Regions from separate parts of the Homo sapiens genome. Here region 2 is linked to region 1. The links are contacts of gene promoters, found by promoter capture Hi-C in blood cells and fetal thymus (Javierre and others, 2016). All regions are on one chromosome and are shown on one strand. The core of a region is centred on a gene start or on the middle of the fragment in contact, and the rest is flanking DNA. Distances in the headings are between cores, read along the strand shown.

Region 1 (6,959 bases), core at 741-3,240:
AAGGTGATGGTATCAGGAGGTGGGGCCTTTGGGAGGTGACTGGTTCAATAGAGTGGAACCCTCATGAATGGGAGAAATGCCTTCATAAAGGAGATGGCTGGAGAAAACTAGTTAGCCCTTTCCACCAAGTGAGGTTACAGCAGTAAGACAGCTGTCAATGAGGGAGTGAACCCTCACCAGCCACTGAATCTTATGGTGCCTTGATCTTGGACTTCCCAGCCACTAAAACTGTGAGAAATAAATTTATGATGTTTATAAGCCACCCAATCTATGGCTTATAAACATAGCAGCCAAAATGGACAAAGACCACTTATCCATCAGCTTGTCTGTTTTTTTGTTTGTTTGTTTTTGAGACGGAGTCTCGCTCTGTCACCAGGCTGGAATGCAATGGCGTGATCTCAGCTCACTGCAACCTCCACCTACCGTGTTCAAGCGATTCTCCTGCCTCAGCCTCCCAAGTAGGTGGGATTACAGGCACCTGCCATCATACCTGGCTAATTTTTGTATTTTTGTAGAGATGGAGTTTAACCATGTTGGCCAGGCTGGTCTTGAACTCCCGACCTCAGGTGATCCGCCCACCTCGGCCTCCCAAAGTGCTGTGATTACAGGCATGAGCCACCGTGCCCAGCCCAACTTGTCTGTTAAATGAGATCATAACATCCCCCTCTCTGTGGTTGTGCTGTTCCTTCAGGTAGCAAATGGATACCATCTATTTTCATAGATCTTGTTTTATCAACTGTATTGTGGTATAATTTACATACAATAAAATATACAAGCATTAAGTATACAGTTTGATAAGTTATGGTAATGTAAACCGGTGACCAGATAGATAACCTGTGTGTTTTTTATACTGTCCAGAGATTGTATCAGACTCTGTGGAAATTACAAAGTAGCATAAAGCATCCTTACTTTGGTTAAACCCTTGATTGGGTTAGGCCTGGGATGTAAGTTCTCACAGCCCCCTACTTCCTCTGCATAACCACACATCACATTGTCTGTCACTCTCCTAGTCTGTAAAGCTACTTGAGGGCATCTCGAGCGTTTTCCCTGCTGTATCTGCAGGCATCTAACACAGTGCGTGGACATTCTGTAAGCATTTGTTGCAAGATAAATGAAAAAAACGTACAAAGTTAACAATGGATATCATGCTGAGTTTGTGCCAAACAAAACAGTCATTTGAAGAAGACCCGGAACAACCTTATGGGTTAGTAATTAGTAAAGACCAGTAGAGAAGGTGGCCTTTGAGAAGGGTCAGGTTTCAATAGGATTAAGGAGCATTTCAGAGCTAAACCAAGTACTTGGAAGAGATAAAAGCAGTGGGCTCAGGCACCAGCCTAGCCCACTGTGCATGAAGCTTGGTGGGGCTAAACATGATTATCAGTCCTTTAACTTTTATTGAACGCCTTCACTTCCAGATTTCTAAGTGGGGCTCAGGAATTATAATAGATGTCCACAGCTGCATGGTCTTCTCTCTCCACAACACGCAGACACTATTAGAAGTAAAAGCCACGTGTCCTCAAGAGGGCAAGGCAAAGCATCTTCAGATGTCTCTGCCCTTAAAGCACACGCGTTCTGCTCTGCGACGAAGCAGGACAAGGAGGACAGGGACCTGCACCTCCGGAGGCCCGCACCTACGAAGATAGCGGGCTCGGGACCTTCGGTGGACCGGCAGGGTTCCAGAGGCCCGCGCGCCGCCGCCCCGCCCTCATTGCTGAGCCTGCCAGGTAAGCAGCCCCAGCGCCGTGCCCGCGCGACCTCTACTCCTTCCGGGAGGGTCGCGCTCACGTCTGAAGTGGGAGCAATGCACCGGGACAGGGACACCTCCTAGGCCATGCCTGTTCCAGTCCAGTTCTGCCTGAAAGTCCGGCTGGCTCATCACCTGCCTAAATAAAACCGTATACGGGCAAACTCCCTCCGCAAGCAGCGCGCCCCAGCACCGGAAGTGACGCGTTACGTGCCCGCGTATTCCTACCGGCGTATTCCCGCCCTGCTTTTCGCCCGCCGTTCCGTGGCGGGAACTGAGGCGACTGTGGGGACATCAGTGATCGTAAGTCTCCTGGGCCCGTTATTCTCAGATTAGGTGACGGAGCTAAGACTTCGAGACCATCTCGTCCTTTTTGTATCGCGGAAACCTGAGGAACGAGCCGGCGGCGGTGACCTGCACGAGAAGCCAGGCTAACTGGTAACCTGCTGGAGGAACTGCAAGCCCGCTTCGCCTTCCCCACTCCTGCCCTTGATGCCCCTTGTGAGGTCTTCCACCTCCTTCGGGGCCCCAGCCTAGTGGCCCTTTCATGCCCTGGCCGCGCCCTTTGGTGAAATGGTGGTTCCGGACAGCATCTTGCAGGCCCCGGCTTTGGGCTGTATTAATGTTTAACAGCCCGAGGCAGGGATGGACTAATCCAGTAACGTTATAAAAACCTTGGCTGCTAACAGATATTAAAAATTTATTTTATTGAGCATATCCCCATATGCCAAGCAAGGAACTATGTATTTGCATACATTCTTTTATTTAACTCAGTTGTCCTGTGGAATAGGCCTTAGCTCCTTTAACAGAAAAGGAAACCGGGTATCATAGATGGTAATTCATTCACCAAATATTACGGAGCATCTACCATGTACCAGGCACTGTTCTAGGCACCAGGGCATGTAGCAGTGAAAAAAATAGAATTAACCGGGGACTTTTCAGGCGAGCTAATGATGCTTTTTATCCCTGAAAACAGCCTGGAAGAATGTTTACCTGCATGTTAGAAATAGTTACCTTCTGGGTGGGATTTTGTATTACTTTTTTAAATCTCTCATGCTTTTATGCATTGTTTTGATTTCTTCAAGTGAGTGTGTTATGAGAAAAACAGCTGTTTCTATTTTAACAACAGAGTCCCCCACCTTCCCTTCCCCACAGAAAGTCTCTGAAGGTAGGTAAGCATTGACTCTGCCATGAAAATAGGTCCCTGGCCAGGCGAGATGGCTCACACCTGTAATCCCAGCACTTTGGGAGGCCGGGGCAGGAGGATTACTTGAGCCCAGGAGTTCCAGACCAGCCTAGGCAACATGGTGAAACCCTGTCTCTACCAAAAATTTAAAAAATTAGCCGGGGGTGGTGGCACGCACCTGTAGTCCTAGCTACTGGGGAGGCTGAAGTGGGAAGATGACAGGAGCCTGGGATGTCAAGGCTGCAGTGAACCATGATTCCGCCACTGCACTCCATCCTAGGCAAAAGAGTGAGACCCTGTCTCAAAAACAACAACAACAAAAAAAGGTCTTTGAGTTCTGACCCAAGGAAAGGAGTGAAGGTTCTCATTTGTGGTGCAAGCAGAGCACCTTTAATTGCCGAAGAGTCCATTTCAGGGTCTGAGCTAGAGCTAGGCCCATGACTGTGAAAGAAACCATGGAGGCCCATGTGGTTTGGTCATTAGCAACATCATATTTATCAATGCATTTGGAACTCATTAAACATTTTTGTGACATATGATCTTTGTTCTATAACTCCTGCACTAGAAATAGATTCTAAGTTCGTTAGGGACTTTGACCACTTTTCTGTTCTTGTAGCCCTCAGTACAGTGCATTCAGAGTGTCCTAGGTCATGGGGTGATGTCCTTTATTATGTAACATCTTTGCACAAGGCTAAGTTTATTTTCGGGCTGTACTTTCTCATAATGGTTCCCCACCACCACCCCCGCTTTCCTATGGTGCTGATTCGCAATAAAAGTTTCAATAAAAGCTTTTTTTTTCTGTCTTGCACCTGACCAGGGTGAAGTACCATGCAAGCATTTCTTAAAGGTACATCCATCAGTACTAAACCCCCGCTGACCAAGGATCGAGGAGTAGCTGCCAGTGCGGGAAGTAGCGGAGAGAACAAGAAAGCCAAACCCGTTCCCTGGGTGGAAAAATAGTAAGAACACTTGTGTCTTTGTTAAAATAATTCATAAATTATCTCTCTAACCAGTACTGATCACTTTTTTTTTTTTTTAACTTATGGAGGAATGCTTTGTTCTGTTTAGAAGTTGTCTTTGAAAAAAAATCACCCACTTATATAAGTCATAGAACCCTGGAACTAAAGTTACCTGAGAATAATCTAGTTTAACTCCCTTATTTTGTAGATAAACTGAGATCTCTACAAGCAGAGGCTTCCATTTTAGGGGCTGGGATACAGAAGTGAAGAAAACAAAAGTTTCTGTAAACTGGCTATAAATACTAGGTCAGGAGTTCTACTTAAATCCAAATATGTAATCTGTTCCTCCTTCTTCTCATTACAATAGGTGGAAAGTATTATTATTATTATTACTATTTTTGAGACGGAGTCTCACTCTGTTGCCCAGGCTGGCGTGCAGTGGCATGGTCTCGACTCACTGCAACCTCCACCTCCTGGGTTCAGGTGATTATCCTGCCTCAGCCTCCCAAATAGTAGGGATTACAGGTGCCCACCACCACACCTGGCTAATTTTTTGTATTTTTAGTAGAGACGGGGTTTCACCATGTTGGTCAGGTCGATCGCAAACTCCTGACCTCAAGTGATCCACCTGCCTTGGCTTCCCAAAGTGCTGGGATTACATGCATGAGCCACCGCGCCCAGCCCTGGAAATTCAGTTTTGGTTAGCTCATACATTTTTGTCCAAACAACACTTGAATTAGCATTTAAATTGTCAGTCACCACCTGGCATGGTGGCTCATGCCTATAATCCTGTATGTAATCCCAGCAATTTGGGAGGCCAAGGTGGGAGGATCACTTGAGGCCAGGAGTTCCAGACCAGCCTGGCCAACATGTCGAAACCCCCTCTTTACTGGGAAAAAAAAAAAAAAAAAATTAGCCAGGCATGTTGGCGGGCACCTGTAATCCCAGCTACTTGGGAGGCTGAGGCACGAGAATCACTTGAACCTGGGAGGCAGAAATTGCAGTGAGCTGAGATCACACCACTGCATTCCAGCCTGGGTGACAGAACGAGACTCTGTCTCAAATAAATAAATAAAATTGTCAGTCATCTAAGTGATATTACCACAAGTAATTGTAACTATTGGTTGAATGTAGCCTCGGTAATTACCAATGTTTACAGATTACTTATAGGCCGAGTAAGGCCCTCATATGTTTTTTGTGTTTTTGTTTTTTGCTTGCCTTTTTGTTTGTTTGTTTTTTTGGGACAGATTCTCACTTTGTCACCCAGGCTGGAGTGCAGTGGCGCAATGTCAGCTCACTGCAACCTCTGCCTCCCAGGTTCAAGTGATTCTCCTGCCTCAGCCTCCCGAGTAGCTGGGATTACAGACATGCCCCACCACACTCAGCTAATTTTTGTATTTTTAATAGAGACAAGGTTTCATCGTGTTGACCAGGCTGGTCTTCAACTCCTGATCTCAGGTGATCTGCCTGCCTTGGCCTCCCAAAGTGCTGGGATTACAGGCGTGAGTCACTGCGCCCAGCCCCTTATATGTTTTGTTTGGCACCAATAAACCTCATGAAAATCTAGATTTTTTTAATTATGTGGAGGAGGGTCTGGATTTTCAGCTTCTCAGGAGATCAGGCAACACTGGGGGCAGGTTCTCACATGACAGGAGTTATATGGACTTGTGTACTGCTTCTCCTTTTGGAAAGGTCGTGTGTTCCTCAATTTGCCATGGTCCCTACTATATCTTGCATCACACTCTGCCTTCCTCACTCTTGTTATCTGCTTAATCTCTGCAGGTATTTGAATATGAGTCCCTGCTTTATAACATATACTGGATTCCCAAGAGAAGACATTAAAAAAAAAAATCATAATTCCTACCTAGTGTTAACCTGATTTATCGAAAAGTATGGATCAAAGAACTTTTGATTAGTTAACTAAGCACAAAGCCTAAGCTTAGAGTTGGAAGTGTAACTTTGTTCTAGCTTCTCTTAAAAATCACTGTTGTAAGATGAAAATTATATATGATACTTCATATTGGTTCAGCTTGTTGTTTTTGTTAGCCCTCAATGAATTGAATAGGTCTTCATTTTTTTATGCAGTTAGATGATGGAAAAAATTGGCATTAACCAGTTAACACATACTAAGTATATATGTAACTACATTAACCAAAATAGTTACCTATACTAAGGTTACTAAATGGTTTTCCCTTTTCATCTTAAGATTCATGATCTTATTTTGTCAAAGTGGAACAATGCTTTTTTTTTTTCTTTTGAGACAGAGTCTTGCTCTGTCGCCCAGGCTGAAGTGCAGTGGTGCGATCTTGGCTCACTGCAACTTCTGCCTCCTGGGTTCAAATGGGACTACAGGCATGTGCCACCACGCCCACCTAATTTTTTTTGTATTTTTAATACAGACGGGGTTTCACCATGTTGACCAGGCTGGTCTCAAACTCCTGATCTCAGGTGATCTGCCTCCCAAAGTGCTGGGATTACAGGCGTGAGCCACCGCATCCGGCCAATAATAATGCTTTCTAAGCAGGTGTTCACTTTAATTTTTTTTTTTTTTTTTTTTTTGAGATAAAGTTTCGCTCTTGTGACCCAGGTTGGAGTGCAATGATACGATCTCGGCTCACCACAACCTCTGCCTCCAGGGTTCAAGCGCTTCTCCTTCCTCAGCCTCCCGAGTAGCTGGCATTACAGGCATGCACCACCATGCCCGGCTAATTTTATATTTTTAGTAGAGACAGTGTTTCTCCGTGTTGGTCAGGCTGGTCTTGAACTCCTGACCTCAGGTGATCCACCTGCTTCAGCCTCCCTAAGTGTTGGGATTAGTGTGAGCCATCGCACCCAGCCCCACTTTAATTTCTTTTTTTTTTTTTTTTTTTTTGAGACAGAGTCTCCCTCTGTCACCCAGGCTGGAGTGCAGTGGTGCGATCTCAGCTCACTGCAAGCTCTGCCTCCCAGGTTCGTGCCGTTCTCCTGCCTCAGCCTCCCAAGTAGCTGGGACTACAGGCGCTCACCACCACGCCTGGCTAATTTTTTGTGTTTTTAGTAGAGACGGGGTTTCACTGTGTTAGCCAGGATG
Region 2 (6,732 bases), core at 1,510-4,009, 260 kb before region 1:
TGGCTGAAATGTGGATGTGATGGCTGGAGCTTGAGCAGTCATTTTGGACCATAAAGTGGAAGTCATATGCTGAGAACGGCAAACCCACAAAGTAGAAAGAACTTGGATTCTGACACTGGAACACCATATTAAGTTTGGAATGTCTACTTTTGGACTTCTTTTGCATGAGAGAGAAATGCATTTTTTGTTTTGTTAAGCTAGTGTGGGGGGATGTGTGTTCCTGTCTCTTGCAGGAACAACTAGTACAGTGTGTACCCTGTTTGGGAATTGCAAGTAGTTCAGTATGGCTAGGATACAGAGAAAGAGCTGGAAGAGATCAGAGAAATGTAGACAGAGGCCAAGCCAGGGAGCTTAGGATTTCTTCAGTAGGTTATGGGGACCAGGAAAGGGTTTTAAGTAAGGAAGATCTAAACATGCTAGAGTTCTGAATTAGTGTTTTTAGAAAAAAGAAGACCACAAAGAAGCTCCTGTTGTCACCTAAGAAATAATGGAGTAAAGAAAAGAAGTTACAATTGTCGGCTGTAGATGTGAAGACTAATTGAATGTTGAGAGTGAGGGAAAAAGGGGACCAAGGGGACTCCTGGACCTCAGGCCATTTCCTGCATAAGAACAGAGAAAAAGGAACAACTGGTATATGCCTGTGGGAGTAAGGTGGGGTGGAAATTTGAAGTTCAAGGATGAGGGCTGGGCTCACTTGAGGTCAGGAGTTCAAGACCAGCCTGGCCAACATGGCGAAACCCTGTCTCTACCAAAAATACAAAAATTAGCCAGGCGTGGTGGCAAGCACCTGTAATCCCAGCTACTTGGAAGGCTGAGGCAGGCGAATAGCTTGAACTCAGGAGGCAGAGGTTGCAGTGAGCCAAGATCGTGCCACTGCACTCTAGCCTGGCGACAGAGCGAGACTCCGTCTTGAGAAAAAAAAAAAAAAAGAAGAAGTTCAAGGATGAGACTACTGGCCAGGAGTTCCCTGGCTGACAGGCCATAAGAACTAAGAACAGAACCCACATCTTGTAACTTTTAAGTACTGTCCTCCTTCCACTGGGAACGTTGTAACTTAACAACAGCCCTTCAGGTCTATAGTCCAAGGGCAGAGCAGGCTTCCTGCTAGATGGGGATTTGTAAGATAGACGTGACTGAGCTGGTGACAGGGAGGCCTGAGGACAGAGGGCCAGTACTCCCTATCCTCATCCACCCTATTCCCCTGAAAACAGCTGTTATATTAAAAGCAAAGTGTCTTTTCTTTAGCTATGCTTCTTTCTATGCAGAGTACTGATGCCAGGTGATATATACATACTCATGAGGAATAGCAATAACTGGGATTTTTAAAAAATGTCTCCCCCTGCTATAGCCCCTTTCCAGCAATTTTGAGTATGCAAAGCAGGAGGCCAGCAACTCCTGGCTCCCTGAGACTTTCCCAGCTGTGGCTTCACCGTCCTCAGAAATTCCAAGAGATGCACGAAGCTTTCTTCTTTACAATATGTGAAAACAACAGACACCATTTAATGATGCTTACTACATGCTAGGTACTGTCATACCTCAACTCAGTTTATCTTCACAACAGCCCTAGGAAGTAAGTGTTAATATGTTCATTTTATGATTAAAGAAATAGAGATGCTAAATGCTAAGTAACTTGTCCAAATTACACAGTCAGTAAGTAAGAGAGTCTGAATTGGATTCTTAGGTCTAGCTCCAGAGACCACACTTCTTTTTTTTTTTTTTTTTTGAGATGGAGTCTCGCTCTGTTGCCCAGGCTGGAGTGCAGTGGCACGATCTTGGCTCACTGCAACCTCCGCCACCCAGGTTCAAGTGATTCTCCTGCCTCAGCCTCCCAAGTAGCTGGTACGACAGACATGTGCCACCACACCCAGCTAATTTTTTGTATTTTTAGTAGAGATGGGGTTTCACTGTGTTAGCCAGGATGGTCTTGATCTCCTGACCTCGTGATCCACCTGCCTCGGCCTCCCAAAGTGTTGGGATTACAGGCATGAGCCACCACACCCGGCCCAGAGACCACACTTCTAACCTATGTGCTATAATGCCTCACATAATGTGGGCAGGGTAGGGTACCACAGCTCTTGGGGAAGGACGTCAGAGAACACTGGATAGGAGTATGGAGTGTCAGGAGAATTTGCTTCTTGCCTGAGTTGTAGTATGTCACAGCTGGATGATACTCAAGGTATTAAATTCAGACCCATCATTTTCCAGATGGGTAAACTGAGGCCCAGAGAGACAAGAGAATTGTCTAAGGCTACGATGAGTTTGTGGCACAGTTAGAACCAGAGCCCAGAGGCAGGCTCCTAACAGATATTCTTTCTGCTCCAGCAGGACTACACCCATAAAACCATCAGACATTCAAATAAGCAAGCACACCATGAGGGTCAGGTCACCCTCAGTCTTCCTGTATCCAATGGAAAAACAGCCATTCACTTGAGCTACTTGAGATGAATGAGACAGTAATCCATGAAAATAGAAACAGGTGAAGATGAATGATAGTTTTATCCAGAGAAGAGAAACAGAAAGTGGCTGGGGCTGGGATCTGGTTGAGGGATAAGGGAGAAGCCAGCAAGCACTCCCCTCCTGGAACTTTACACATGGCTCTGAACTCACCCACATTAACACCATCTATATGAAGTTCAAAGATTTTCTACCAAAAAAAAAAAAAAAAAAAAAGGTTGCCTTGCCAGGTGCAGTGGCTCACACCTGTAATCCCAGCACTTTGGGAAGCTGAGGTGGGCAGATCACTTGAGGTCAGGAGTTCGAGATCACCCTGGCCAACATAGTAAAACCTCGTCTCTACTAAAAATACAAAAATTAGCCAGGCGTGGTGGCGGGCACCTGAAATCTCAGCTACTCAGAAGGCTGAGGCAGGAGAATCGCTTGAACCCCGGAGGCAGAGGTTGCAGTGAGCCAAGATCGCACCACTGCACTCCAGCCTGGGTGACAGAGACTCTGTCTCCAAAAAAAAAAAAAAAAAAAAAAAAAAGAAAGAAAGAAAGAAAAGAAGATTGCCTTAAAACTGGATGGGGAATTGGAAGCATGGGTTCCAGTCCTGCTCTGTGTCTAACTCACTCCATGGTATTAGATGGACCATGTCACATCTCCTGGCCTCAGGTGCCTTATTTAGACATAACCACCTTGTAAGGCCCTGCTGAGGGGACCAGCTGTTCCTGGAAGAATAAAGCTGTTCTCAAACGCCTGTACTTACCTGCAGGGGGAGTGTGACCTGGGTTTGGAGATCCTCTTAGGGGGCAGGGGAGGAGTTCATGCTGAGAATAAGTCATTGGCAGAGCAGCAGAGCCCTGGGGAACATCTGCCAGGAAAAGGCTACACCAGGGCATGGAGTGCTGCTGCTCAAGACACTGTTTAAAGTAACCTTCTCAGTTAGAAAGTAACAAATACTCACTGGGGACAGTTAGAAAATGCAAGAATAGAAACACACACACACACACACACACACACACACGCACGCACGCACATCTTCAGATATTACCACTGTGCATATTTTGGACTTTTTTCTTCTCAAATCTGTTTTCCCTCTGTTATAGACTGAATTGTGTGCCCCCAGAATTCCTATGTTGAAGCCCTAATCCCTAATGTGACTAATACCCTGTTTGGAAATAGGGCTGTGAGGGAGGTAATTAGGATTAAATGTGTCATGTGGTGGGGCCCTAATCCAATGGGGCCAGTGTCCTTACAACAAGAAGAGACCCGCAGAGCTCTCTCTTTCCACCACGCACAGAGGAAAAGCCATGTGAAGACACAGCCTGAAGGCATCCTTTCTCTGATTCGGAGAACTAGTGACTGAGACTGTGTCTGCTGGCCCAAATCAAGAAGCCCCAGAACTCATGATTGCCATCATGATTAAATTTTAGCTCCAATTATGATATTAATAGACTGTATGGCAGGGGTTCCATCAAAATCACCCAGCTCACCATCGCTGGTTTTAGACCCGTTGTTGATGGAAATCTCGCCCACCTCCCACCCGCCCTGCCAACCCATCCAGATACCTGTCTTTCAGTATCTTGAGAAGAAAAGTTGGAGCTTCCAGAAAGCTTTGGTGATTTAAAGTGCTGGTGGCAAACACCTAGAACCAAATCCCACCTCTGTCGCTTACTTTCTGGGCTCCTGTGAGCAACTTAAACTCTGGGAGCCTGAGTTCTGAGGTAAAATGGTGGTTGGTGGTCATACCTCACAGGGTTTGCCATGAAGATCAAATGAGAGAAGGCATGTAAGACCCTTAGATGGTATATATAATATATTTAACAAATGGCATCAACTATTATTTCAAGATAAGCCCCACTGAGTAATCTGGAAATGTCCTGGTTGCAGTCCAGTCAGTGTGGACTGTTGCTAGGCATATAGGAAGTAGGTCTTCTCTCTCCAGCTAGCACAAAAGCTTCCAAGGAAGCCACTGGGTCTTCTTGTCCCATTGTCTCCTCTCTCAGGCCCACAGGGTACAGGAGGTACTGAGTTGAGTCTCACAGAAACCTTCTTACTCTTATAGTCAAAACTGCATTTATTTAAAGACCTGTCCATTTACATATATCATTTTTCCTGTTGACTCTCATAGCCACACCTGGCACAGAAGTGTCACATGCCTGACTAGGTCTGCTGGCCTGAAACCTAACAGTATGACACCATTCTCTATAAAAAGCCACCTTCTCAATAAGAAAAGTGCCTTTTTTGTTTTGCATGCCTTCATCATGGCCAAGGGAGGGGAGCTGAACAAATGTGGGTCCAGATGGCTTTAGAAGAGAGCTGCTAAAGCCAGGCGCAGTGGCTCATGCCTGTAATCCCAGCACTTTGGGAGGCTGAGGCAGGTGGATCACCTGAGGTCAGGAGTTTGAGACTAGTCTGGCAAACATGGCAAAACCCTGTCTCTACTAAAAATACAAAAAATTAGCTGGGCATGGTGGTGCATGCCTGTAATCTCAGCTACTTGGGAGACCGAGGCAGGGGAATCACTTGAACCCAGGAGGCAGAGCAGGGAGCCGAGAGTGCACCACTGCACTCCAGCCTGAGCGCAAGAGCAAAACTCTGTCTCAAAAAAAAAAAAAAAGAAAAAGAAGAGAGCTGCTGTCAGGAGACCTCTCCGTCTGGGAAAAGAACAAGCCACTCAGAGGCAGAATTCTACCAAAGCAACAGCTATTCTCTCAGTGACTTCTGGGTGCCAGATGTTCTCCTTGTGGAGTGGGGGTGGGGACCCCGTTTACTAATCCACAGAAACAGACACAAAATAGTTAGGATAACTGACCAGGACAAAAGATAGAGAAGACAGACCACCAGCTTTTTAGGATATCAAGGTAAGAAAGGGCAATGATAGAAAGTGTCCATCACAGTTCAGTACCACCACAAGTGCTGTCATGGAGCGGCCAGGACTCGAGTACGAAAGGAACAGCCAGATACTTAGTGTTGCTTACAGGAGGTGAGAAAAGAGAGCTGACTTGCCTAAGAAGCAGCAGGAAAGGCTCTCTTGAGGGTGGGTAGTGTATCCCGGGAAGTGGGCCACCTTCCTCGCAGCCCTGGCACAATGGTGCACAGAGATCTAGAAGTGTAATGGGAAAAAAATCTGCTTCAGTAGAAAGCCATGCATTTTCTGAGCACACTCTTCCTCCCTGTCAGATTCTGATTCCACGGGAGCTATTTCGCAACCCTTTGTGAATTGTAGGCAACTAATACATGTGCCTACTGGGCAGGATGCTGCCCAGGAGAGTTTCAATTGATTTCTCCCCTCCCCCTGCCTTATCTCACAGAAAAACTAGTTCAACTCCTTTACTCCAAATTTGTGTTGCTTTGACTTTTCCTTTGAACCAGTTGTAATATCTGCCTGGTTCCATCATACGAGTAAAATAAAATCTTCATGATGAATTCATTTTTAATATCTGTATGAGAGTCATCATCTTACCTTTTTTTCCCTAAAAATTATCCTTTAACAGAAGTTTTGCCTCCCTTCTGCTAGATGCCTCTCAAGTGGTCTCAAGCTGACTCACCTTCCCTGTTGGGATTTGGGAAGGTGGAGTCATTCGCAAACAGGCAGAGGCAGACATTCAGGTTTCAGTAGTGCCCATCGCTACTATTTACAAAGCACTTGCTGCATACCAGCCTCTGGGTGACATGCTCCACACATAGTAACTCCTTTGATCCTAAAAAAAAACCCTGGATAGTAACTATTCATATTTCTGTGTTACAAGTAAGGGAAATGAGGCTCAGAAAGGTAAAGTAAAGCAACTTGCTGAAGTCACTCACACAGGAAGTGTTGGGGGAGGGATCTGATCAAAGCCTGCCTGACTCCAGTACTCTTAATTCCCAGGCAACCTTACTTTGGCCTTAAATACAGTTTCAAATCTTTGCAGGACTGGGGTTTCGTTCTTCACAGTGAGGAAGACTGAATCATCACGAAGAAGTGCTCAGAGAGTAGGTAGCCTCCGCAGTCCAAGAGAGTGCTCAGGGAGGGCTCCTCCCCTCTCCCCTCTCCTCTTTGCTGCTGCCTGCTCACCTCCAGATCCTACCATCCATGTATCAAACAGAGATTGGTTTCTCTCTAAATTCATTCTCTTCAACCTCAAAGTAGCCCAGCATGGCCTGGAAATCCTACTCCATTCATCAGGTTTACTGACGGTCCCACTCACCTCAATGACAATTATAAATCTCTTTGTTCAAACCTTCTCTACTAAAACCTCTTTCCCCCTCAGCCTCCTTCTGACTTGGCCTTGCATGCCACTTTGCAGAGAA

The links. Contacts are between HindIII fragments. The CHiCAGO score rates a contact against its expected background, and 5 or more counts as called.
Region 2: a fragment that was not itself captured here is called in contact with the fragment with the promoter of RFC4 in region 1 in 4 of 17 cell types (activated CD4 T cells, total CD4 T cells, naive CD8 T cells and 1 more); the score reaches 6.0 in activated CD4 T cells.

The regions. Positions count from the first base shown.
Region 1 is chr3:186,801,513-186,808,471 of GRCh38, reverse strand. It overlaps RFC4 (replication factor C subunit 4), which reads left to right and starts at 1,990. Exons shown (of 11, transcript NM_002916.5): 1 at 1,990-2,182; 2 at 3,748-3,889. The coding sequence starts at 3,759. RefSeq lists enhancers at 1,211-1,822, 1,823-2,434. The HindIII fragment of the contact is 2,364 bases long and covers 1,357-3,720 here.
Region 2 is chr3:187,063,333-187,070,064 of GRCh38, reverse strand. The region is part of intron 5 of ST6GAL1 (ST6 beta-galactoside alpha-2,6-sialyltransferase 1); the gene reads right to left. Among named protein-coding and RNA genes, the nearest start is that of RPL39L, 73 kb to the left of the region's middle. RefSeq lists a silencer at 3,255-3,304 and an enhancer at 4,252-4,431. The HindIII fragment of the contact is 2,591 bases long and covers 1,464-4,054 here.